Linked DNA regions of Homo sapiens: all the other regions are linked to region 2. The links are contacts of gene promoters, found by promoter capture Hi-C in blood cells and fetal thymus (Javierre and others, 2016). All regions are on one chromosome and are shown on one strand. The core of a region is centred on a gene start or on the middle of the fragment in contact, and the rest is flanking DNA. Distances in the headings are between cores, read along the strand shown.

Region 1 (5,496 bases), core at 1,807-4,306, 190 kb after region 2:
CCTACTGTAAACGACGTAACTTATATCCCTCAATTCCTATAACACGATGAGTAGGCCTTATCACCACATTAAAGATATGGGAACTAAGGCTTACAGAGAATAAGGTTTTTTTGCGGGTTTTGTTTTTTTTTTGTTTTTTATTTTTTTGAGACAGGGTCTTGCTCTGTTACCCAGGCTGGAGTGCAGCAGCACGATCACAGCTCACTGCAGCCTCAATTTCTCAGGCTCAAGCGATCCTCCCACCTTAGCATCCTGAGAAGCTGGGACCACAGGTGCACACCATCATGCCCAGCTAATTTTTAAATTACTTGTAAAGATAGGGTCTCATAATGTTGCTCAGGCTGGTCTGAAACTCCTGGGCTTAAGTGATCCTCCCACCTTGGCCCCCCTAAAGCACTGGGATTACAAACATGAGCCACCACACCCAGCCCATACAGAGGATGTCACCTTTCCTCCAGTCACATCAATACAGCTGCATCCCAGGACAGTAGGGGAAACTCCAAAAATCGTACAAGCTAAGGAAAGGTAGCTTAGCTTATAGATCCATCTATTAGGAATTCCAAAAGTTCCACACGGTCCCCACTTTGCTGTCCTCTGTGCACAAGTTCCTCCTATTCTGACCATCCTGATCGTCTCAGGACCCACCTCGTCTTCCAGCTTCTGTCTGAGGCAGCCATCAGGGTGACACTCTGCTGGGCTGGCATGCCCACTGACACCCTTCCAGAAGCATAGAGGCAGCTTCTCAGAGGACTTCTTCTGGTAGGAGCTTGTGGCTGTTTCTTACAACATCATGGATGATTCAGGAACATGGGTGTGCAGTGGCTTCATAACTCCAATCCCAACCTCAGCCTCTGCAGAGCTGTCCTGCAGCCTCATTTTTGTCCCCCACACATTTCATCACAAGAGAGTAGTCTCCACCTTCCCCACTCAAGCAGTGGCTTTGGGTTTGAAGTCGGCTTGTCTGTCAGTTGCCAACCATGCTACAAACTTGACTAATCTCTGAGCTCCAACCTCAGGGCCCCCACTTGTAGTTTCTCAGAGAAGTCAGACTTGTCTTCCTCAGACGTATATGGGCCTCCCAAGTGGGCTTCAATTCCTCAGAACCTTCCTCGATGTTCTTTTGTGCAGAGAATAACAGAGGCCGGTCTCTTCACAAGCCTAACATGAGAACCTAATGGGGCCAGGCGCGGTGGCTCATGCCTGTAATCCCAGCACTTTGGGAAGCCAAGGTGGGCAGATTATTTGAGGTCAGGAGTTCGAGACCAACCTGGCCAATATGGTGAAACCCCATCTCTACTAAAAATACAAAAATTAGCCAGGTGTGGTGGCGGACACCTGTAATCCCAGCTACTTGTGAGGCTGAGGCAGGAGAATCGCTTGAGCCCAACCCAGGAGGTGGGGAGGTGGAGGATGCAGAGAGCTGAGATCTTCCCACTGCACTCCAGCCTGGGCAACAAGAGTAAAACACCTCGAAAAAAAAAAAGAACCTAATGGGATAATTATGAGATGCCCTCATACATGTTTAGACCTCAGTAAATCCCAATTGTTTGCCTCTACTCCCTTCCTGTGGTAGGCCACTTCTGAAATGGTCTTGATGATCTGGATAGTCATGAAACCGCCTTTGCAAAAATTTTAACTGAGAAATTTATGACAGTGAAAGAGATCTGACCTAACTGACTCCATCTTGCTTCTAACCTCCAAGCTGTCCGTGTTCATTCCTGGGCACAGGCCGAACTAACTTTGGGAGGAAGTCAGTTTATAGTTTAACTTTGAAATAAAGATGATAACAGCCCTTTCCCAAAACAAACCCCCTTCCTGCCTGGGAACTAGACTGCCTTTGCAGGACTAACAAATTTGCCACAAGATTAGAAATTGTGGTTTAGGAGTCATGCAGCTGGAGGCTGTAAGATTCTGAACCTTCCCAAATTGCATCCTGGGGCTAACATCACTATTGTAAAGCCTAAGATCAGTGTTTGAGATATTTTGCAGACCCTGCCCTCAAAGGATGAGCTGGTACCACCCAGATTGATAAACTGGCTCATCCAGTCATGTGGCCCCTACCCAGGAACTGACTCAGTGCAAGAGGACAGCTTCAACTCCCTATGACTTCATATCCCACCTGACCAATCAGCACTCCCCACTTCCCGACACCCTACTCGGCAAATTATCATTAAGAACCCCAATCCTCGAGTTTTCAGGGAGACAGCTTTGAGTAATAATAAAACTCTGGTCTCCCACACAGCTGACTCTGTGTGAATTAAACTCTTTCTCTATTGCAATTTCCCTGTCTTGATAAATTGGCTCTGTCTAGGCAGCAGGCAAGGAGAACCCAATAGGCAGTTACAGTCACATCTTGGTGTGTCCCCTCATGTGTGTGTGTGTGTGTGTGTGTGTGTGTGTGTGTGTACTGTACAGAGTGAGTTGCTTCTAACATAATAGGACTAAAGTGATGGGGTGTCACTTCTGAGATTAGGCTATAAAGGACTATGACTTTCATCTTCCTTGCATCTTCTCTCTCTCTCTCTCTTTCTCTCTCTCTCTCTCCCTGCTAGCTAGGGAGTCAAGGGGGGGTACCCAGGACACAGAATTGAAGAAGACACTCCTTCTCTGGCCCATGCAAGTGCAGGGTCAGCACCTGAGAGTGAGTGTCTCTTCAAATGCTGTGCCCCGAGTGCCTTGCCTGCCTCACCTTCCTTCTAGCCAGCTCCCAGGGCAGACCTGACCTGCACCCCTATCCCAGCCTTGACAATCTCTGAACAGGTCCTGGCCAAGCATGGTGATCAGATTTCCTACCTCCTCCAGCTTGATTTCTGGGCCAGATGTCAGAGATAGGGGGCACCCGGATCTCTGAGAACCAGCTCTTCTGTGCCAGGCTTCCTGGCACCGAAAAACCAAATATATTTCAATCCCTCTGTCCTCATGTCTCCATGATGGATACTGGTCTTTTGTATAGTCAGCAGGTCCTTCTCCTTTCATACCAATAGACAATGACAGAGGTAGTCCGAGTCGAAGCCCACCGCACTTCCCACCAGCTTGCTCCCAAGCGCCAAAAACAGAAAAAAGCACTGTGCATGAGCTGCTTTCCCGTGCCCTCTCAGTATGGCGTAGTATATGAGCATGGCAACGTTTACCAGGAGGGGATTTTAGAATGCCTCCGAATCTTCCAAGCACTATGTATTTTAATGTGTATGATGACAGCTATCATTTGAGGGATGCTAGGCACTATGCTAAGTGCTTTACTTGTGGTTTTTGGTTTGATTTCCTCAAAGACCTTAGGAGGTAGGTCTCATTTTTAAGGTCTTAATAGGTTTATTAACCTATTAAGTTAATAGGTTAATAGAAACTCAAGTCTTAATAGGTTTATTAACTTGTGTGAGATCACGGTTAATACACCGTGGCCCTGGGACTTGAATTCAGTCTAGCTGGGCTCTAAGCCTGTGTGCCCAGCACTATGCCACACTGCCTCCCCAGCAGAGTTTGACTTTCCAAGGCCCACTGGGCTTCTCCTTCCTACCATGATCAGAATCCTGGTATAAGAGTTTCTCTGCCAGGTGCAGTGGCTCACGCCTGTAATCCCAGCACTTTGGGAGGCAGAGGTGGGCAGATGACCTGAGCCCAGGAGTTCCAGACCAGCCTGGCCAACATGGCAAAACCCCATCTCTACTAAATACAAAATTAGCTGGGTGGCGGCTTGCACCTGTAGTCTCAGCTACTCGGGAGGCTGAAGCACAAGAATCACCTGAACCCCAGAGGTGGAGGTTGCAGTGAGCCAAGATCGTGCCACTGCACTCCAGCCTGGGCAACACAGTGAGACTCTGTCTCAGAAAAAAAAGAGTTTCTCTATTCTCCCCATCCCCCCTCTGTCACTCCCATGAAAGTTTAACTAAACATGAGAAGTTAAGTAAACATACAAATAAAACTTGCCTTCTACCTCTTTAACATGTCCCTTCCCGAGAAGCCCACCTAGACCAAATCACAGGCAGGAGGCCGCTATGGGGGTGGCAAATGGCATTCTGTTCTGGAAGGGCAACCACAAACTTTAGAGCCAAGAAGCCCTGGCTTGGAAGCCCAGTTCCACCCCTTTGTAGCTGAGTGGGTGATTCTGTCTCTGAGCCTCATTCATAATCTGTAAAATGGGGAAAGCAATGCTCACTTTTTAGGGTGCTTAATTCACTCATTAAATGAATACATTTAAATATATATAATATATACTGATATAATTGAATATATTATATATATAAATAATAATCCTGTGCCCTGAGAGCCACCATGTCAGCCTAGGTTTCCTGCTCTTTGAAATTTCCAAACATTGGCTGGAATCTCATCTTGGCCTCTGCAAGGAACAAGATCTATTTAGAGATTTGTTACAGATTTCAATTGTGTCACTTTCCTTTTTAAGGCAAAGCGGCTACAGTGGGCCATGGTTTTAAATACTATTTTCTTCTTCTCTGTTATATGCATAAGGCTCCAAGAACTGTGTCAGGTGCATGCGGTTACTTTGAGGACCAAGAGGACAAAGGAGGGGGAGGAAGGAGCAGTCCTCCTTAAAGAGGAGGCTGGACCCCTCCTGGGCTTTCCCATAAAAAAGTTCTGGGAGCAGTAGATCCATTCTGAGATTTTCAGGTATAAGAAACAGAAAATGGCCGGGCGCAGTGGCACCCACCTGTAATCCTAGCTATTCAGGAGGCTGAGGTGGGAGGATTGCTTGAGCCCATGAGTTTGAGCCTATAGTGAGCTATGATCATACCACTGCACTCCAGTCTGGGTGACACAGTGAGATGAAAGAAAGGAAGGAAGGAAGGGAGGAAGGGAAAGAAAATCCAACTTGAATGCCTTAAACAACCAAAACAATGTATTGGTTTACAAAATCTAAAGTTTAGAGGTAACGTGGGCTTCTGGCACGGGCTGTTGAGAGCTCCCAGTGTTTTGGGGGCTGCAACTCTGCTTGTCTGAAAGTTTCTCACCTCTGCCTCCCAGTCAGCTTTTTCTAAACCAGCCTTTCCTTGAGGTAGCACAAGGCAGCTGACAGCGTCCAGGGCTCAGCGCTTCCTCACTCATGTCTGGGGGATCAGTGTGGTTGTATGCCCACCCCTAAAACAATCGCAGTGGCCAAGGGAATGCCAAGGGGGCAGGGATTATGTTGATGGGTTTAGGCCAATTGGAACTGACCCCTGAAACTAAGAGTTGGTTTGATCCTAGACTTAAACCACAATAGGATGGGGGAACCTGCAATGGCAACTGCAGATATTCACCCCAAAGACCCTTCTTCAGTGTGGGTGTGGGTGTGGGTGTATTGTGTTGTGTCAGTGTGTATGTGTGATGTGTCAGTGTGTGAGGTGTGTGTTTGTGGGTATGAGAGTGTATTGTACACATGATGTGACTGTGTAAGCATGTATGTTGTGATTGTGCATATAAGTGTGTGTGTATGTTTGTATTAGTTGAGAAGACCATATGCTGGACTAAGTGTGCCTTGCATTATTTTTTAAAATTTTATTT
Region 2 (5,315 bases), core at 782-3,281:
CTAACAAATGAATTGTGGAAGTTCAAATATTCCTTATAAAAATATTAAAATTACATCATGGGTAACTGGCAAAGCAAAAACGAAAAAACTGCTCAAAAACTCCTAAAAATTTAAACCATAATTCATTCATAAAATAACTAAAGCAAAATGGAAAAGGCTGAAAATGCACCAAAATGACTAAATGACAAGTACTGCACTGTAGTATTTTAAAAACCTCTCTGAAACCAGTTCTCCATCAAATTTTGTATCAACCTCACCTAAAAGGATTTAATTGAAATAAACATCAATGATTTTCACTGTCAAGTCAACTTTAACATCAGTAATAAATACCAAGTACTACTGACTGGGTCCCTAAGGATATTATTTACTTTATTACTCATTGTTTACTCAAACTGTAGATCTGTAAACAGATATCAACTTTTTTTTTTCAAGACAAGTTAATATAGATACATAGTGAAATAATTAGGCCAGAGTCACTATAGAGTCCAGAATGCCTGTTCCAGAATCAAAGATCTTGATCAGAAAAAGATACATACATATATATTAGAGAGAGAAGGAGAGAGAAACTACAAAAGGATAGAGTGCCGTACTAGGAGATTAAGAATATGGATTTCTCACAGTAACAGTGTGTTTACTAAATGCATTTCATATTGGAAAAAGCATATTAGACTTGTAAGAATTCTCTCTGGACCTCCCTTGCCTTTTTGGGAAGGAAAGCGTGTTTGTATTTAGATGGGAACCAAGAAGGATCAGGCTACACACATCGAATATAAAGTTCATTTACACCAAATGACAAATATTAATTTTTGAAACATATAGTCATATTCTTGAGAAAAAGTTCTAGAAACTGAAGTCAGGCAATGTGAAAGAAAAGGATAAAAATCCATACTATTTTTGAGCTCTGAATTCAGAAAGCATCACTTCTCAGACGGGTGACTTCGACATGGAGGTGACTAATTTAGGATCGTCGGCCGGTGGCAGCTCATGCCCCCAGACAAAATTCTGAATGGGTAGAGGTCATTTTATAGCAAGAAGAATGGGCAGAAGGGAGTGAAAACGAATAAATTCGTGCTGAAGATGTAAGAATTATAAACAATTGAAAGTGTTCCAGCAGCTTTATATATATGCCAGAGGCAAGAACTGAATTAGCTGGCACCGCTAAATAGGACAGTGTCAGAATATAAAAGGTACACTACCTTTAATAAGGGGCATAGGGATCGATTTCAATAACAATCGTAAATCCACATTTTGTAACGCCGAGACAAATAACTGAAGGAATAATTTCAAAAGCTAACACAGAAGCCTTCTGCTCCTGCTGTGTAATCACTACCTTCTTATTATTAGCAAGAAAACGTTCTTTTCTTAGCCGGGTCTCAAGGTAGCAGCTAGTTTGACAAGGAAAGACCTTTGGGAAGGGTAGCAGCCTAAGCCAATTCATAAGTGTGGGGCTGGCTAAGTAGATCGACGTGGCTATTTCTGAGCTATCGTCCCAGGCAAAAGGTTTCTTATTTGGGTGTCCAGCCCGGCGGAGACCGAGCCCGCGGGCCACCCTAGCGCTCGCTCTGGCTACGCCGCCTCAGCCCCTCCTCAAGCGCACCTGGACATTTAACCAACAGCTAAGTCCGGCGGCCGAATGACTGAGCCGGCGGCAATATTCAAACAACCGTTTTGGGATAGAGAAGGAAAAACTCTCTCCGGGTCCCTCAGAACCACCCCGAGGCGGGACAAGCCACCGCCACCCCGGGCAACTGGAACCCGCCGGGCAGAAGACGGGCGTCAATAGAATGGCCTCCCCAGCCGTCCCCACGCCCCAATCCGAGGCCCGGGGAGGGCGGCGGGGCTAGGCCTGTCTCCCCGCGGAAGCCTGGCTCGGCAGCGGAGGGCCCTCTGGGGTTTCTCTTCCCAGACCCAGAGTCCTGGAGCAGCTAGCAAGGGAAACACGAAAGGACAGCGCCGCGGAGCTCACCCCAGGTTCAAGGCATCGCGCACCCTGCGGCAGCGGCTGCGCTGCCTCAGCCCACAGCTCAGACCTGCGGGTGGCCGCGACTCAGGCCGGGACCCGGTCGCACCTCTGTGACGCAAAGCCCCGCCCCCCGCGCGTTGCCGGGAGACGGCGCCCAACCTTCCTCTGCAGCGCCCCTACCGACCCGCGCTCCGCAGCTCCTGAGGGCTTTCGAGCCCAGATGGTCATCTGAGACGAGAGGTGGCGGCGAAGGAGAGTCTCGCCTGTCACGCTCCCGGAGCAGGGGCTTCATGAGGTGGCCATGGAAACAGCCTGGCAGACTCCCATCTCTCCTGGTGCCATCTCCGGAGCGGAAAGTGGAGCGCCCCGCTGGCGACCAAGGCCGCACTGAGAGCCCTGGTTTGGTCAACAGTTGGGCTCCAAGGTACCACTTCCCAGACCTCCAGCCTCCCCACTGATGATAGATACACAAAGGTCATCTTGTTTCTTTATGAGGCAATGGATTGTGTTCACCTAGCCGAGTTGTTAAGCATAAGAGAATGTATGAAAAGTAATTACAAGGTTCAAAATCCTGAGCTTTGATAAATGATAGATATGATGATGAGCACATGTTAGTGATATTACTGCTCTGCGGGACGTCTGAATCAGTAATTGCTGTCTTTTAAGCATCTGTTGTGTGCCAAATACTGCACTAGGCACTTTACGGGCATTGCTCTTGTTTAAGTCGTCTGGTCAAAGTTGCCTAGACAATAAACAGCAGAGCAAGGATTTTAACCCAGGTACAGCTGACACTGCTGCCTCTATGCTTAGCAGTTAAACTGGTTTTTATGTTTCTTGTTTGTACACCCCTCCTTCACCAGTCACTTGTAGATTCACCTTGTGAAGAGCTAATTCTTCCCTCTAATAATAATACTCTTTGACCATTTACTATATGTCAAACCGTATTTTAAGGACTTTAAAGGTATTAATTCGTTTAATCTTCACAGCAATCCTGTGAGTAGGTATTATTAATACCTTCACTAAGACACAGGCTTAGAAAAGTCGATTAACTTTTCCAAGGTCAAACAACCATTAAGGAGCAGAGCCAGATTCAAACCCAAGCAGACAGAACCCTGAACCTGTGTTTTTAATTCCTGTTTTAAACTGCCTCGGTAGTACGGTAAGACTTCATTAGCGCTAGGTCCATGCCTGTTTGTGCACCATTATTTCCCTGACAGCCAGCATGGTACTTGTTCAATATTTGAACATTTGATGAATATTTGAACACTGGAAAAGGAAAAAGCTTAAAAATGAAGTATAAATAATGATTTAATAAATTCCAAAAGATATCAAATTCAACAAGATTCCATAGTTCAGCCTAATCCGGGCCTGGGAGTTAGAAATATTACTCTGTAAAAATTGCCTTCAATTAAACATTGTATTGGAAGTTCTGGTCAATGAAATAAAAAAAGACAAATATATAAAAGGCATCCAAGTTGGAAAGGAAGTTGTAGCACTGCATTTATTTGCATAAGAAAATTGTGGAATACTACAAAAAAGCTGCTAGAACTCATAAGTGAGTTTACAAAAGTTGCAAGATACAAAATCAAATATACAAAAATCAGTTGTATTTCTATATACTAGCAATGAACAATTAGAAATGGAAAATTTTTAAATATCTCTTATCAGCAAAAAAAAAAAAAAAAAAAAAAGCAGCAAATTTGGGACAAATTTGACCAAAGATGAGAAAGACATGTATACTGAAAACTATAAAATATTATGGAATAGCAAAGACATGGAATCAACCCAGGTGCTTATCAATAGTGGATTGGATAAAGAAAGTGTGGTACATATACGCCATGGAATACTATACAACCACAAAAAGGACTAGATCATATCTTTTGCAGCAACATGAATACAGCTGGAGGCCATTGTCCTAAGCAAAATAATGCAGAAACAGGAAACCAAATACCGCATGTTCTCACTTATAAGTAGGAGCTAAACGTTGAGTACACAGACACAAAGTTGGGAACAATAAACACTGGGGATTCCAAAAGGGTAGAAAAAACTACTATTGGGTACTATGTTCACCACTTGGGTGACCTGGATCATTAGAAGCCTAAACCTCAGCATTGTTCGATATACCCATGTAACAAAACTACACGTGTACCCCCTGAATCTAAAATAAAATAAAAAACATTGTTAAGAGAAATTAAAGAAGACCTAAATAAATAGAGATACATTATGTTCATGAATCAGAAGACTGAGCATTTTTAAGATATCACTTCTGCCTAAATTGACCTACAGATTTAAGGAAATTCCAATAAAAATTCTAGCAGATTTCTTTTTGATGGAAATGACCAAACTAATTCTAAAATTTATATGGAGATGCAAAGGACCTAGGATAGTCAAGACTTTCATCAAAAAAAACAAAGTTTTGGGACTTACACTACCTGATCTCAAGACATTATAATAAGAGCTACTCAACACAGTATAGTATAGGTATGAAAATAGATAGAGTAATGGAACAGTATATAGAACCCAGAGATGTATCTATACATATGTCATCAATTGATTTTCGACAAATATGCCAAGGCAATTCAGTGGGGGAAAAGATAATCTTTTCAACAAATAAACCTGAAAAAATTGAATAGCATATGCCAAAAAACTCTTAATATCTTGCTCCTTTCCTCATACTGTCACAGGATCCTTGGAGTGTTGCTCTGCCAGCCAGAAACCTCTGTGGCCGGTGGCTCCTTTGCCCGAGTTTTGCTCAGGCCCACTGGGCTCATTCTGCCCATTTGGCCTTGCAGGCTGCACTCGGCTCATGCCACTGGCCCAGATCCCATGCCTGCCAAGGACGAGCCAGGCGCAAAGTGGTGAGGGGTGCGTGAGCAAGTGAGCGCGAGGTCTGGCCGCTGTGCACAGCTAGGCACGCCAGCTGTGGCGGGGCGGGTGGCTCCAGGTGCTGGCATGGGCGCTGGCTCCTGCAAAGCTGTGGCTGGACCAGGAGTACCACAAGCGGCTTCCACTGCTGGCACTAGGGAATGTGGTGGCACCTGGAAGCTTTGAGATGCCAGGAAATGCAGAGCCCCCAAGAGGGTGTTACAGTCCTGGCTCAGGGAGCTCTTAGGTCTGGGCTTCTCGAAGTGTCAAAGCTCTTCTCTCCTTCTCTCTTCTGTCCTTCTCATCGCTTGCAACATGGGGAGTGAGGGGGTGTTTCAGCCCTGTTTGTGTTACAGTTCTTTCAGTCCTGCCATTTGGCAGGTCCCAAGTTGTTGTCCCACATCCAGGAATAATGAGGTATGCAGACAATTGGAGGGTGAGTAGGGTGAAGAGGTGCTTTATTGAGTGACAGTATAGCTCTCAGGAG
Region 3 (5,158 bases), core at 2,437-4,936, 150 kb after region 2:
ATCATTCTCAGTAAACTATTGCAAGGACAAAAAACCAAACACTGCATCTTCTCACTCATAGATGGGAATTGAACAATGAGAACACATGGACACAGGAAGGGGAACATCACACTCTGGGGACTGTTGTGGGGTGGGGAGAGCGGGGAGGGAGAGCATTAGGAGATATACCTAATGCTAAATGACGAGTTAATGGGTGCAGCACACCAGCATGGCACATGTATACATATGTAACTAACCTGCATATTGTACACATGTACCCTAAAACTTAAAGTATAATAATAATAATAATAATAATAATAATAATAATAATAATAATAAAGAGAAAAGGCTGGCAAGTTCCTGCTGCTGGGATCTGAAAGCTGCCCTGGGTCCTGCCTTCCTGAGGCATTGCTGGCTACCTACCTTTTCCTTTGATTTTCTCAAATACCTTATAATAAATCCTACTTTCTCTTAAGTTAGCCAACATAGCCTTCTGAGATCTGGCAATCAAAGAACTTTAACCAATATATAGGTGGGATCTGCAATTTCTTGTGTGCTGGGACAGACTATGTGAATATCACATAATAACTACCATTTTATAGAGCATTTTTCTACAGCAAAGAGAAAGGCTTGTCCAAACTTCCCAGAGGAAAGAGGCCCTTCCTGAGCTCTGGAAGAGTCTCTCTGCTGTAGGCAGAGGTGGCTCATCAGGCCACATCATAGCTTAGGTGACCCACCCCTCAGAACTTTCTGCCTTCTTACCTAAATCTCTATCTATCAAGCATTTTGGTCATTGGAAAGGGTTTGTCTCCTATCATATACTGGCACATAGACATTCAGAATTGCATACTTGGCTGGGTGCAGTGGCTTACACCTGTAATCCCAGCACTTTGAAAGGAGGCTGAGGCAGGTGGATCACTTGAGGTTAGGAGTTCGAGACCAGAATGGCCAACATGGTGAAACCCTGTCTCTACTAAAAATGCAAAAAATTATCTGGGCATGGTGGCGCATGCCTGTAATCCCAGCTACTTGGGAGGCAGAGGTTGCAGTGAGCCGAGATCGCACCACTGTACTTCAGCGTGGGTGATGCAGCAAGATTCCGTTCCCAAAAAAAAAAAAAAAGAATTAAAAGAATTGTATACTTTAGTAATCTCAGTGCTTTAGCAGGCTGAGGCAAGAGTATCACTTGAGTCCAGGAGTTTGAGACCAGCATGGGCAACATAGCAAGACCCTGTCTCTAAAACAAAAAAACGTTTAAAACATTAGCCAGGTGAGGTAGTATATGCCTGTAGTCCTAGCTACTTGGGAGGCTGAGGTGGGAGGATCACTTGAGCCAGGGAGGTCAAGCCTGCAAGTCAGCTGTGACTATACCACTGCACTCCAGCCCAGGGGTCAGAGTGAGACCCTGCCTCTCTTGAAAAAAAAAAAAAAAAATTGTATACTTCAGTCTCTTGTGAGTTTGATTATTGTGAGTCAGTCTCTACATAAGCAATCAACTAATCAATTCCAGGTCACTAACCAGGCTTAGGGATAGGTCCAGGACTCTAGAACATCCCCAAGGTGATGCTCCTTGGGGAAGTCTCTTAGAAGCCAACTAGCCAGGTTTATCTTGACAACACCTAGCCTTATCATCATTGCCTTCCAAACTACAACGGGGACCAGTTAGATCTCAGGTGGGAAACAAGAAAGATGTCTTAGGTAAGAAGCCCAGGAAGACATTACATTCTTTCTACCATACCCATACAAGTCAAAAATATGACAAGAGAGTCCTTGGGGAAACCTGACCATTTGGGGGCATCCAAAATAGAGGACTCCCATGTGCTCAATATTAATCTGGGCTTCAATAATAATAATTACTTATTGGGTACTTATTCAGGTATAAGTACTTTAGATCTAGCAATCCATTTCATAGGTAAGGGGACTCAGAGGTTAGATCATTCGCCCACGTCAAACAGTAAGTTGTGGGGCTGGGATTTGAACAGACTGGGTGACCTCGGCAACATTTACAGACTTTTAGGGCACAAACTTTGGAGAGCCATAGAAAGTGACTCAAGACACACAATGTAGGACATGGCATTTCTTGCCAGTAAAAAGCTTGTGATTCTAAATTTGTATTTTTCCTTCTAAATAGAGGAAGGAACTTGTTCATAAACAAGACTAGGAGACCTGATAAAGATCATTACATACTGAAAGAAACCAAGAGAAGTGCAAAGTAGAGCAAGCCTAGTGGGGAAGCTGCTCCAGTGCCCTGCCCCGAGAGCTCAGGACCTCAGCTCTGAGCAGCAGCACTGGGACCTCCAGGGCTTTGTTCTTATAGGGGCAGGAACAAAGGGTCAGGCATTATCACTCTGTCCTGCAGCCAGGTCTATAGGCCACAGAGAGATGGAAAGAGATGGGGCTTGGTGGTCTGATGGTTTTGGTTTGACTCTCATTCTTCTCATACTAGTTACTATCCTCCTTGAATCAGTTTGTTCACAAATACCTCCCTTGCATGGCTAAAGTACAGATTTGATGAGATATTGTATAAAATGTGCCTGGCACATACAAACTTGCTCAAACAATGGTAGTTCCTTTCCCATATATTTTCTCATCTATCTGTAAGAAGTAACCCAGAAGAAAGGAGTTAAGAGATCACTTGCTCCCTGTCTGGAGTTGCCTAAATGAAACTTCTGTGAAAAAAGGAAAATTCATCGCCGCAGAAACTTCTAGTCAGATGCTTGCCTTGTCTAAGGAAGGACTCTGCATTAAACAAGTTCCCCACCAGGCATCTCTGGAGAAAAGATGAGGATTGATTAACTGGAAAAGGGAGGAGAGGGGGTGCCCATGGGACCATGTGGCAACCCCTGCAGCCTCGGCCCTGCCTGTCTCTCACTAGGGCAGGACACAAGTCTTGCCAGGTGCCCATGGGAGACCAGCCTTGCAAGTGGGCTTTAGCCAGGCCCTCATAGTGGTACCCCAGAGTGCCACGCTCTTCCACACCAAGAGAATGGCTATCTGATGGTGAGTTCTGAGAAGTACCTGCATGAATAGCTCAGCCCTCCCTCTTCTGTTTCTCTAGGGAATTAGCTGCTTTCAGGGGACACACATTCTGCTCTGTTTCTCCAAGCTTTAATATTTAAAGAGCCCTACTTTCCCCAGTGGGCACCCCCTAGGGCTGGGGGATAAATCTGCTCAATGCAATATTAGAAAACCTACTTGCCTGTTGATCCAAACACTTTCCAACACCAGCTTCATCAGTCATACGGGTGATATTAGTCTCTGAATTCCCAACAAGCCTTAAAGCTTCAGTGAAGGAAAGAGGTGTTATTTATTGGGCCTCCTTAAAGACTTCACCAGACACAGATGCCCAATCCTCTTGAGAGGAAGTCCACCACTCTCCTTGCGGTGTTTTTGGAGTTGAGAATAGGACCCAGGACTGTGGATGGTCAGAGCCTCAAACCCAGTGCAGAAGTCTTCTTGATGGAATCTCTGGAGGGGAACAGACAGGGGCTAGAAATAATAAGACCTAATGTATACCGAGTGCTAAGAATAGACAGTGGGCTAAGGGATTTAGCTTTGCTTTTTTTTGGGGGGGGGTGGTATTTAACTTTGTAAAATGGACACTATCATTACAGGTCGAGCATTCCAAATCTGAAAAATCTGAAATCTAAAATGCTCCAAAATGCAAGAATTTCTGGCCACTGGCAAGACACTCAAAGGAAATGCTCACTGGAGCATTTCAGATTTTGGATTTTTGGATTTGGGATGCTGAACTGGGTAAATATGATGCAAATATTCCAAAGGCCAAAAAAAAAAAAAGTGAAATCTGAAACACCTGTGGTCCCAAGCATTTTGGTAAGGGATACTGAACCCATATTACAGGAGAAGAAACTGAAGCGCCAACAGATTAGGTGCAGCTCAAGGGATACAGCTGGTCAGTGGTGGAGCCACACGGTCACTCCAGGGTCCACACTTTCCATAGGGACACTGTGCTGCCTCCATTACAAGATGTCATCTCCCCACTGTGATAATAAGGGAAGAGCTGGCCAACACTGAGCCCACCTCCTGACTCAGAGCCCGGGGTTATTTTCACCACACCTGTATGAGCAAAGTCAAGAATGTCTTCAGGCTTTCTTCTCCTCCTGATGAGCCAGGAAGCTTGGGCTCTCTGGAAACACCCTCTTGATTTGCTTATCAGCCACAGAACTCTCTGTGGCCTCTCTGTGTCCCTTCCCTGGTGGCCACTCTGGGAACCACATCCCACCCCTAGAGCCAGGCTGTGTGCAGTGTATAGTCTCATCCCTCTCAGCCTCTCTCATTGAGCCCATTGGTTCCTAAATTCCTGTTGGTTTTGCTGGGATGACTCAACTTCCCCAACACCCTGCACTCACCAATACCTGGATTCCACCAAGTTCATACAACCCGATTTCCACCAAGCCGTGGTGGAATGACCTGACTCATTTATACACTATGCTCACAATTTTTCCCATGCCTGTGTTTTACCTATGCCTTTATTTACTTAATATTCTTTCATTTGAGTAGCAATGGGCCAGAAAATCAAGACTGAAACCCCGGTTGGCCATTTACTAACTTTGTGTTGTTAGGCAAGTTTCTTGCCCTCTCTGTGCCCCAGTTTCCTGATCTGTATAAGGAGGACAATGACAGTAACTACTTCAGAGGGTTGCTGTGAGGACTGAATGAGCGACTGCAGGTAAAGCATTAGGACAGTGCCTAGCACACGGTACACACTCACCAAGTGTTAGCTACCATTGTCATTACTTTTATTTAAAAGGGAAACTTTATATTCCTACCTTAAATGGAAAAAGCAATACCACTTACCACAAATAGAGTTATAAAAATAAATAAAATGAAAACGGTTATTAAACCTTAGCTAAGGCCTGCTCTCATTTTTTTAAGAAGGGAAACAAACAGAAAGATGGTGAAGGCATATGAGGCTTAAATGAGGGTGACCAACCTTTTGAATTTGTCCAGGACCTGTCCCAATTTTAGCACTGGAAGTCCTGCAGCAATTCTCATTCCCGGCTGACCCTGGACAGTCGGTCAACCTACCTCAAATAGAGGCTTTCTCTCCTTCATTCAAAGGAATAAAAAGAACTTAAGAAGGAATAATGTTCTTACAATGTGATGTTGTGTGTTTAAGGCTGGGTCAGTATCCCACATACGATCATCTTGCAGAACA
Region 4 (5,051 bases), core at 2,234-4,733, 170 kb after region 2:
GAGTTAAGATCATGGCACTGCACTCCCGTCTGGAAAACAGAGAGAGACTCCATCTCAAAAAAAGAAAAAGAGTAAAAAAAGACACTGTTAAAGGGGTTCCCTCTAGCAGCAGAACTTGGGGTAGGAAACCAGGACTTTTTGTTACAAGGCTTTCTCTTCTGATTCTTTTAAAAAGCAATGTGGAGGTATTGCTTTTATTTAAAAATTATTTTAAAAATAAAAAAAATTAAAATAAGTGCCTAGGTGTTCTTTCCATTAGAAGGAGGCCCTGAGGTAGGCTGGTGGGGAGAAAGAGGGAGCAAAAGGGTCTTGGCATCCTGACTGGAGGGAACAGCTACTGGAAACATTGTCATCTACTTTCTGCATTCTGCCCCAAGAGCATGACTTACCCATTCATTCCACAGATATGCACTATGTACATACCTTGTGCCTAGGCCTCTGCTAGGCAGGGAGGCTCAGAGGTGGGCAAGATATGGCTCCTGCCCTCCAGGAGGTGATAGTATAAGACTTCAACAAGTCAGTAACATCCATAATACAAGCTATGTGAAAGTGGTGTGCAAGCTCTGTTGTTGTGCTTACATGAGGTGTTGTTAGTAGAACTATTCTATAAGGAAGAACACAGTCAGTACCATGGATGGGCAGTAGTTAGGGATCACTGAGCTTGAACCAAGTGCTGCAGGAGCTCCGAGGAAGAAGTGGAGCATTGGGAAGATTTGCTTTCTAGTTGACATTTGAGGCAGTTATTAAGTCCAAACAGGTCAAGGTTTCAAAGGATGGAGAGTGGGTCAGGGAGGGTCTTCTTCCCAGGTAAAGAAGTAGTACATGCCTAGGTATGGCGAAGTGTTCAGGAATGCAGTAGTAGGGGTTCTGTTTTGGGGCTGGCTGAGTAGGTCAGATAATGAAGGAGCCTTAAACCCCAGGCTTGGGAGTTTGAACTTACTTTTATGTGGGCTGGGAGCCCCAGGAAGTTTCTAAGCCGAGAAAGTGTCTGATATGAGCTGGGCTTTGAGAAGATTGCTCTAGGGCAGGGGACAAGTCAAGGGATTATTGTAAAATGCCATGGAAAGAAAGTGGACTTTGGAGCCAGACAGACTCCAGGGAACTATGGAAAAATTAATTAACCTCTCCAAGGTCAGTTTCCTCATCTTCAAAATCAGTAACACTGGGGATTGCCTTCAAGAAAGTTGGCAACTGTTATGGCCGGGGTACTAGCCACTAAGTATGGGTAACAGTGACTGTCCTGCTAGAGCTGGGTCCTGGAAGTCCCCAGCAGTACCAGGCATCAATCCTTCAGTTGCCAAACTATGACAAGGTCCAGGTAATCCTAGGGAAGGGGCCAGGGTGACTGGGGTGATAGGGAGAGGTCTCAGGGCAGCAGCAATATGCAACTGGCAGGGAAGTACCTTAATATTTGAACAATTCATAGCCATGGTGGGGTGGATGGGCTGAACATTAGCCTGGGCGCTCCTGAAATACCCCATAAAGATGTGGCCCTCAGGAAATAAAAGGATATCCAGGATGACCAGTTGAGCAACTGATGTAAAGTAAAATCATTTATTGAGATGAGAAAGCCTGGGAGGAGCGAGCCGGGGACACAGGAGTAATGGACTCAGAGTATTATTTTGGACATGTTAAGTTTGGTTGACTGTGAAACATCCAAGTAGAGATGACACTTGGACAGTTGAACATGTGAAGCTCCACAGAGAAGTGGGAACAACAGTGATGAGGTGGGCAGATGAGAGAGAGACTCAAGAAACTTGTGCCCTAACTGCTTGTGGGAAATGGGAAGAACAGAGTGAGTGACTCCAAAGTTTTGATCTCTGGACAGGTAGAGAGAAGTTAATGCCCTGAGGAAGCCAGGAGCAGGAGTGCATTGGTTAAGGATGATATGAGTTCAGTTTGAAATGCTGGTGGGAGGCCCAGATGGAGAGGCCCAGCAAATGGTTAGAAATGCAGAGTGACAAGGATTGTGGCTTAAGAGAGGTGCAGACTGGTGACATCGAATTCAGAAGTATGGACTTCTAGGAGAGCTTTCAGTCACAGGCCTTTGTAAACTGATTAGGGTGGGTGTAAGAGAAAAGAGAGCTAAGGGAAGAAAGTCAGAAAGACAGAGAAAGAGAGAGAGAGAGGACATAATAAAGGCTTGGAAAGAGAGAAAGGGGAAAATCAACACAGAGGACCAAAAAATGAGGAGCCAGTAAAAAACTGGCAAGAGACAGGAAGTTGCTGTCAGTACATGGAAAAGAGGAGGAGGTGGCCTGTAGAGTACTGCAGGGAGCCCAGGAGATGAGGATTGCAAACAAGCTATCAGACCTTAGAAAGCCTTGTCAGTAGACCGGTGGGTTTCGTGAGGTCATGGAGGTGAAGGCTGTGAGGGTCACTTCATCATTCGCTGAGCAACCATGGACTGTCATATATGTAAGATGAACTGTGATACCAGGGAGACCTAGAAGTCCCGAAATGAGGTGGAAGCCAGGTGAGGATTTCAGAGCAGGCAGCACTGCTCTTTGGAGAAGTGTGGTAGATGAGTTTGTTCCCTCCTCTGAGCTCCCCTGCACCCTGTGCTCACACACATCATTACAGCAGAGCTTTCCATGGCTGTCTACCTGCTCACAAGGGTGAGTGAACAAGACTGTTCATGGCTGCAGGTGGTCAGCTGGGGATTGTGGTAGCCCCACACCCTACCAATACATTCAAAGAACAGATAGGAATCAGTATCTCAGCCTGTCTTTACCCCATTCGTAGCCCATGAGAATGCTGGAGCACACCAAAGAGAAACTCAGTATTGCACACCTATCGTCTGATGTTAGAACTTTATTTTTTTTTCTTTCATTATTATTATTATTATTATTATTTTACATGGACAATGGTCAGTGGCCTAATATTGGGGCTTTTCTGCCTCCTCTACCTGGTTGTGAGGTCCTCAAAGATAAGGACCCAGGCAATGCATCTTTATAATAATAATAGTAACAGCAATGACAACAGTGATGTATTGATTATTTATTATGAGCCAGGCACTGGGCTAAGCCCCTCATATGGATAATCTCATCCGATCCTCACTAAAGCCCTACAAGGCAGGCATGTTGTTGTTATGAATATCAACCCATTCTAAAGGTGAGGAAACTAAGGGTTGGGGATGATAAGTAATTTGACCAAGGTTACAGCTGTCAGAATGCAAGCTTAGATTTTAATTCAGTTAGTCAAATTCTAGAACCAGCACCCAAAACCAGTGGCTCACACTGCCTCCTGATGCAATAGCCCCAGTGCCTAGTTTAACATCTAATACATGTTAAGTGAAAATGTTGGCTGAATTAAACTGGGAAGAATAAAAAATCTAGTTACTGGGCATGGAGAGATAGGTTCCAGGTCTTTGAAGGGAGATCTGAGCTGAATTGTGCATGGAGAAAATGAGTCAATAGGGAACACCAGAGGGAACACCTCAAGAACACCAGAAACAGCATGGGAACACAGGAATTGAAATCACATCCTTGCTAAGTAAGAGGAGAGGCCCAGGTGCAGCCAGTTTGGGGTCTGAGTGAATAGAGCCAATGGCTACTTGCCTGCTGGGCTCTGCTTGGTTCTAGGCACAGACCAGGCCAGGCAAGGATGAAATGAGGTATGGACTCTGCCCACAAGGAAACCTCTACCCAGCCTGCCCATACGAAGATGGGGCAGGGCTGGGAATGCTACAAAAGCTGTAGAAGCTCAGAAGCTGTAGAAGCGGAGCTTCTGGGAAAAAGAGGTCTCTGGCTCCCGGAGTGGTCAGGAATGGCTTCATGACAGAGGGAGAAGCTTCAGTGGGGCCTTGAGTGTTGAGTTGAATAGGGAAAATCAAGGGAGGAGGAAGGGATTCCAGATTGGGCCAGCTGGGTGAGCGGACTCTGCTGGACCCAATAGCAGAATTGATGGGGAGAGTGCAGGATTCTTTGAGTTGCAAAGAACAGAAATCAACTCTGGCTGGCTCAAGTGTTAAAGGGGCCTGTGCCAATGATAACTGAACCCCCACAGAACCCAGGACTGGTAATTAAGTACACCCAGACCTTGAGGGAGCAGAGGGCTGTCAGGAACTGAAGCCCTTACTCTGTTAATCTGTGTGAATGTCTGCGTCCCTGTCTCCCACACACCATGTGATCTCACAGGCCATGTAATCTCTCTCTCTCTCCCCCTTCTCTCTGAGAATCCATTTTCTCCTCCTCCTCCTCCTCCTCTTCCTCCTCCTCTTCCTACCTCTTCTCCGGCTTTTTCTGCACACTCACATTGCTATGGCCCATCATGGCCTCTCAGCTCTAGCCTTCTCCTGCCCCGACCCTCTGACAGCTATCTCCTGTTTCAGATTAAAAAAAAGACCTGGTTTGTCTGTTTAAGCCAAGTCTCCAAAGTTACTAGCTACCTTTAAGGCAGATATCCCTCTCTGACCAGATAGCCATATCTTGGACCACGTGATAAACAGGGTGGCCGTAGGTGGGATAGGCAATAAAATATGTTAGAGAAAAGGAGCGAGGAAAGGACCTCGCATTTACTAAGCTCCTGGTATGAGCTAAGAACTGTGCCAGGTGACCTGCATTATGTGATTTAATGGCCCAGTGAGATTGATTTTATTATTCCTATTTTACAAATGAAGACACTGAAGAGAAGTTAAGCAATTTGCCCAGTCACAAAAGTAGAAGGTAGCTGAGCTAGAATTCAAATTGAAATCTGTCCAACTGCAAAGTCAATGTTCTTTCCACAGAACCACTCAGCCAGGGAATGGGGGTTATTCAAGCTAGTTAAAACCATTGAACTTAGTCTAAGGAGACCACAGGGTTCAAACCTTGCAGCTTACAGGTATTTGCTGTGGCAGACCTTCTTAACATTTTTAGGGTCCCATAACTCTGAGAATCTGACAAAAAGCTATGAATCTCCTCCCCAGAAAAATACACACATGCCTATACCATTTGGCCTGTGCTTTCATGGGATTTACAGACCTCCTGAGGCTCATCCACTGGCCCGCACCTAAAAGTCTTTGCTCTACAGCATCCCTGACTATTGATTAACTTATCCTCCATTTGAGA
Region 5 (4,838 bases), core at 1-2,500, 210 kb after region 2:
TTGACTTCGATCAGTTACCGGAGGGAGATGAAGTTATCAGTATTCTGAAACAGGAACACACACAACTGCACATATGGATTGCTTTGGCGGTCAGTATTCATGTAGCAAATATTTTTTATTTGTTGACTAGGAAAATATGTAGTTTCTGTTTTCAGATATAGTAATAGCCAGCTTGGCTGCATGGTAGATTAGTTATACCATGTGTATGGAAGTTAATTGTGTTAATAATTTATGGAACAATAAGGCCGTTTTCCTAAATGATATGCTGCTCTACTGGTGAATTAGTATATGTTGGTAAAGGCAAAATTCATTTAAGTAGTACTCTATATTGAATATTTTATTATTTAGTGCTTGTTCAGTGAAGGCTGGCTTATGGTTTATAGATAAGCTGAAAAGAAGCGAAGTGCTTCTGTGTGAACATTGCTGCTTAACATTGTTTCCTATAACAACAAAACACTTCCCTTAAAATATTCTAGAATGTGATTAGGTTCTGGGAAAATCACTTCACCCAAAATCACAAAAGTTCTTTTGGGTGAAGTTTATCTCAGACTTATGTTTTTTGTCCTATTTAGTCTCCTTCAATGTGAATCTTACTGGAGATTCTCAAGAAAATCCAATCAGAAACCCTAAAATTCTATATCCTCTACTTGCCAGCATCAGCTGCATAATGATGTTTTCTTTTTATAGGAATAGGTAATATAAATGTTACAGTCATTATTCCTAAGTAGATATGCCACATTGCTTTCATACAAACATACAGAAGAGGCTCCTAATATTGTCTTGAAGAGTCAGAGAAATAGGTCTGGAATTGGGCTTATATCCAGTGCTCAAGACTGCTCTAAGAGTTTCTTCCTTTTAGATGTGGATTTACAGAGAAGTATTTTCAGTGACAAGCAGTGCCTTCTTGACTTGAAGTGCCAACTTTTCTTATTCCATGGAGACCAAGCCTCCTTGTCACACACATTTTTTTTAAAACCAGATGGTAATTTAGATGTATATATAATATATATTATATATATATATATTTTTAAGTACATATGCCCTCCTTAACAGCACTTAAACAAAAATTAGAATATTGGAGGATTAGCATGGCACCTGTAGTAGAATAAATTAATGACACATTGTGGGATATAGATTTTTACAGGGAAAAGAATGTAGGCTTTGGGGTTAGATCAAGTCCCGGCATGGCTGCTAACTAGCTATGTGACCTTAGACAAATGATCTAACTTCTGAGCATATGTCCTCATTTAAAATATAGAGATGTTAGCATCTACCTCATAGAGTGGTTGTACAGATTAGAGAATATGTGTATGAAATTCCTTTCATGGTATGTGACCAATAGTCAGTGGTTAATAAGTGGTGGATATTCCACATAGAGACAGAGTCTCTCTATTTTGCCCAGGCTAGACTCAAACTCCTGGGCTCAAGCCATCCTGCCACTACAGCATCCCAAGTAGTAGATTACAGGTACATACCACCACACCTAGTGGATATTTCTTTTATTATTTATAAGTCAAACAGATGCCTAGAGAAGTTGTTAAACAGGCCCAAATCACAGATAATTTTTGGTAGATCTAGAACCAGAACCCAAGTTTTCTATTTAGAATTCTTCATATCTTTCACTATTGTTTTCTCTCTTAGGCTCTACTTATCTGAAAATTTTAGTTAGAAATCAACTAGATAAGCAGCAGATTGGGAACATTGTGAATGATTCCAGTTTTTTAAACAGTTTTATTAAAGTCTAATGGATTTATAATAAACTGCACATATTTGACATTTACCATTTGATAAGTTTTATCATCTGTATATACCTGTGAAACCATCACCACAATCAAGATTAATGAATACATTCATCACCTTCTGAAAGTGTCCTCTGTACCACTCCCCACAAGTCCCCCACCCCACCCCTAATCCCTGTGCCAGACAACCACTGGTCTGCTTTTTGACACTAGAGATTGTTTTACATTTTCTAGAGTTTTATATAAATGGAATCACACAATATGTACTCTTTTTTTGGTCTGATTTCTTTCATTCAGCATAATTATTTTGAGATTTATCCATGTTGTAGCATGTATCAGTAGTTCATTCCTTTTCATTGTAGGATAGTATCCATTTTATGGATACACCACAGCTTGTTTATCCATTCACCTGTTAATCAACATTTTGATTGTTTCCAGTTTTTTGTTATTACAAATAAAGCTGCTGTAAACATTTGTGTACAACTTTTTATATGGACATATGCTTTAGTGATTCTAATTTGTTTCATTACCTTATAGCTGGAATACTACAAGCAAGGAAAAACAGAAGAGTTTGTAAAATTGTTGGAAGCAGCACGTATAGATGGCAATTTGGACTATAGAGACCATGAAAAAGACCAGATGACTTGCTTGGATACATTGGCAGCGTATTATGTACAACAGGCTCGGAAAGAAAAGAATAAGGACAATAAAAAGGATCTTATTACACAGGCCACCTTGTTGTATACAATGGCCGATAAAATTATTATGTATGATCAGGTAAAAATAAAGTCAAATTTCTTTCCATTTATGAAGGGAGAAAAGCACATGAAAGCAAAATGTGTGTGATAGCAGATTTTTTGAAAGAGTTTTTCTTCAAGTAACATGGTTGATAGAGTCAAAAAGAAGAAAGGTTCCTCATTAAAATCGGAATGCTTTGGTTTTTGTACTGTTTAAGTAATATGGACAAATGTAGTACATAAAACTTGCTCCAGTAATTTTATTATCTCCAGGTGAATTTCAAGGATATTTTAAGGAATTTAAATTTTTCTTTTGGTTGTTGTTATTGGCACAGAAGACTTACATTTCAGGATAATTTCTTATTTTGTAATTAAGAATTGCTTGTTAGTAGCTTAAGCACGTTACATTTGATAGGGGAATTTGCACTGTGCTCCACCTCCTTCCTATTTGGTTTTCACTTTAGTGTTACATGTTCATGGTATATAGGGGTAAAATCTAAGATAATACATTACTTCATAGAACCATTTGTTGGGAAGAGCCTGCTTCTGCCTACTTGAGGGTGACAAAATGGATCAAGCTGATGCACAGTTTCATTTTGTACTCAATCAGTCTCCAAATAATATTCCAGCCCTTCTTGGTAAGTGGTCTTTGGCAACATGTTAGGAAACAGTTGTTTTCAGCATATGCCTAGAATATATCTCTTGGTAATAGCTCCTTAATAACTCAGCTAGACAGCAAAGTAGAAGAGCTTTATGTTGTTACAAATGAAATTACCTACAACAAATATTGTTGAAATTGTAGAAATAAAATATATACCAGTTAAGAATAATTTATTATTTAGGCCAGGCATGGTATAATCTCAGCACTTTGAGACCCTGTCTCGTTATACCTGTAATCCCAGCGCTTTGAGAGACTGAGGCAGGAGGATCACTTGAGGCCAGGAGTTCAAGACGAGCTGGGGCAACATAGCAAGACCCCATCTCTACAAAAAATAATTTTTTCAAAAAAGAGTAATTGGTTATACACTTCTGAAGAGCCAATAAACAATCTCTACTTAGACAACTTAAAGTTATTTCAATTATTACTTTATAACATTTTTTAAACTTTTATTGAAGTTCAGTGGTACAAGTGCAGGTTTGTTACATAGGTAAACTTGGTCATGGGGGTTTGTTGTGCAGGTTATTTCATCACTTAGGTATTAAGCCTAGTACCTATTAGTTATTTTTCCTGATCCTCTTCCTCCTCCCACCCTCCACCCTCCAAAAGGCCCCAGTATGTGATGTTCCCCTCTGTGTCCATGTGTTCTCATCATTTAGCTCCCACTTATAAGTGAGAACAGGCAGTATTCAGTTTTCTGTTCCTATGTTAGTTTGCTAACTTTATAACATTTAACATAAAAATAGGAAGTTTTATTTTTAGACATAAATTAGTATACTTTTATGAAAAACAAATTTTTAATATGAAATTTTGTTCTGTGTTTTCAAGTATTTCTCACTCAGAGATGTATTTAACTTAGATAAGTTAGTGTAAAACATAATAGACTTGTAGCCTTTAATCAGACACTGTGTTTATTTTTAAAAATCATTACAGGTAAAGCTTGCATTTCCTTCAACAAGAAGGATTACAGAGGAGCTCTTGCTTACTATAAGAAAGCATTGCGTACTAACCCAGGATGTCCAGGTAAGAGAAAAATTTTATTTTATGTCTAAACTGTGTATTACCCAGCTTAAAGCATTGAGGATTTGTCAGTTGCTTATGAAGTTATGAAAAGATATTGTTGGATTATAGAAATGTCAGAATCAAGTTTTTTTTTTGATGCTATGTTTGAGTCAAAAGCTGGATAGTAAGGCCAGGTGCAATGGCTCATGCCAATAATCCCAGCACTTTGGTAGGCAGAGGCAGGACTACTTGAGCCCAGGAGTTTGAGACCAGCCTGGGCAACGTAGTAAGACCCTGTCTCTACAAAAAATAAAAAAGTTACATGAGCATGGTGGCACACACCTGTGGTCCCAGCTCCTTAGGAGGCTCAGGCTGGAGGATCGCTTGAGTCTGGGAGGTTGAGGCTGCAGTGAGCCATCATTGTGCCATTGCATTCCAGCCTGGGCAACAGAACAAGACCTTGTCTCAAGGGGAAAAAAAAATAGATAGGGTCTGGCTGCACTGGTTCACACCTGTAATCTCAGCACTTTGGGAGGGTGAGGTAGAAGGATTGCTTGAGCCCAGGAATTTGAGACTAGCCTTTGCAACAAAGGGAGACCCCCATCTCTACAGAAAATCAGCCGCACATGGTAGTGCTTGTGGTCGCACCTACACAAGAGGCTAGGCAGGAAGATCACTTGAGCCTAGGCATTTGAGGCTGCA

What was found. Contacts are between HindIII fragments. The CHiCAGO score rates a contact against its expected background, and 5 or more counts as called.
Region 1: a fragment that was not itself captured here is called in contact with the fragment with the promoter of RNF141 in region 2 in 15 of 17 cell types (monocytes, naive B cells, total B cells and 12 more); the score reaches 17.0 in monocytes.
Region 3: a contact is called between a fragment that was not itself captured here and the fragment with the promoter of RNF141 in region 2, in 1 of 17 cell types (naive B cells). The highest score is 5.1, in naive B cells.
Region 4: a contact is called between a fragment that was not itself captured here and the fragment with the promoter of RNF141 in region 2, in 1 of 17 cell types (M1 macrophages). The highest score is 5.3, in M1 macrophages.
Region 5: a fragment that was not itself captured here is called in contact with the fragment with the promoter of RNF141 in region 2 in 2 of 17 cell types (total B cells and naive CD4 T cells); the score reaches 5.9 in total B cells.

The regions. Positions count from the first base shown.
Region 1 is chr11:10,729,573-10,735,068 of GRCh38, forward strand. No RefSeq gene overlaps it. Among named protein-coding and RNA genes, the nearest start is that of CTR9, 19 kb to the right of the region's middle. The HindIII fragment of the contact is 7,606 bases long and covers 1-5,496 here.
Region 2 is chr11:10,539,156-10,544,470 of GRCh38, forward strand. RNF141 (ring finger protein 141) reads right to left here and starts at 2,032. Exons shown (of 6, transcript NM_016422.4): 1 at 1,967-2,032. It overlaps IRAG1-AS1 (IRAG1 antisense RNA 1), which reads left to right and starts at 2,081. Exons shown (of 4, transcript NR_046375.1): 1 at 2,081-2,387. RefSeq lists an enhancer at 2,108-2,217. The HindIII fragment of the contact is 4,708 bases long and covers 1-3,243 here.
Region 3 is chr11:10,684,331-10,689,488 of GRCh38, forward strand. All of the region lies in intron 1 of IRAG1 (inositol 1,4,5-triphosphate receptor associated 1), which reads right to left. Among named protein-coding and RNA genes, the nearest start is that of IRAG1, 6.8 kb to the right of the region's middle. RefSeq lists an enhancer at 4,082-4,131. The HindIII fragment of the contact is 855 bases long and covers 3,260-4,114 here.
Region 4 is chr11:10,704,182-10,709,232 of GRCh38, forward strand. No RefSeq gene overlaps it. Among named protein-coding and RNA genes, the nearest start is that of IRAG1, 13 kb to the left of the region's middle. The HindIII fragment of the contact is 613 bases long and covers 3,178-3,790 here.
Region 5 is chr11:10,752,682-10,757,519 of GRCh38, forward strand. CTR9 (CTR9 component of Paf1/RNA polymerase II complex) reads left to right here. Exons shown (of 25, transcript NM_014633.5): 2 at 1-89; 3 at 2,277-2,516; 4 at 2,997-3,114; 5 at 4,068-4,157. Among named protein-coding and RNA genes, the nearest start is that of CTR9, 3.9 kb to the left of the region's middle. The HindIII fragment of the contact is 5,641 bases long and covers 1-4,071 here.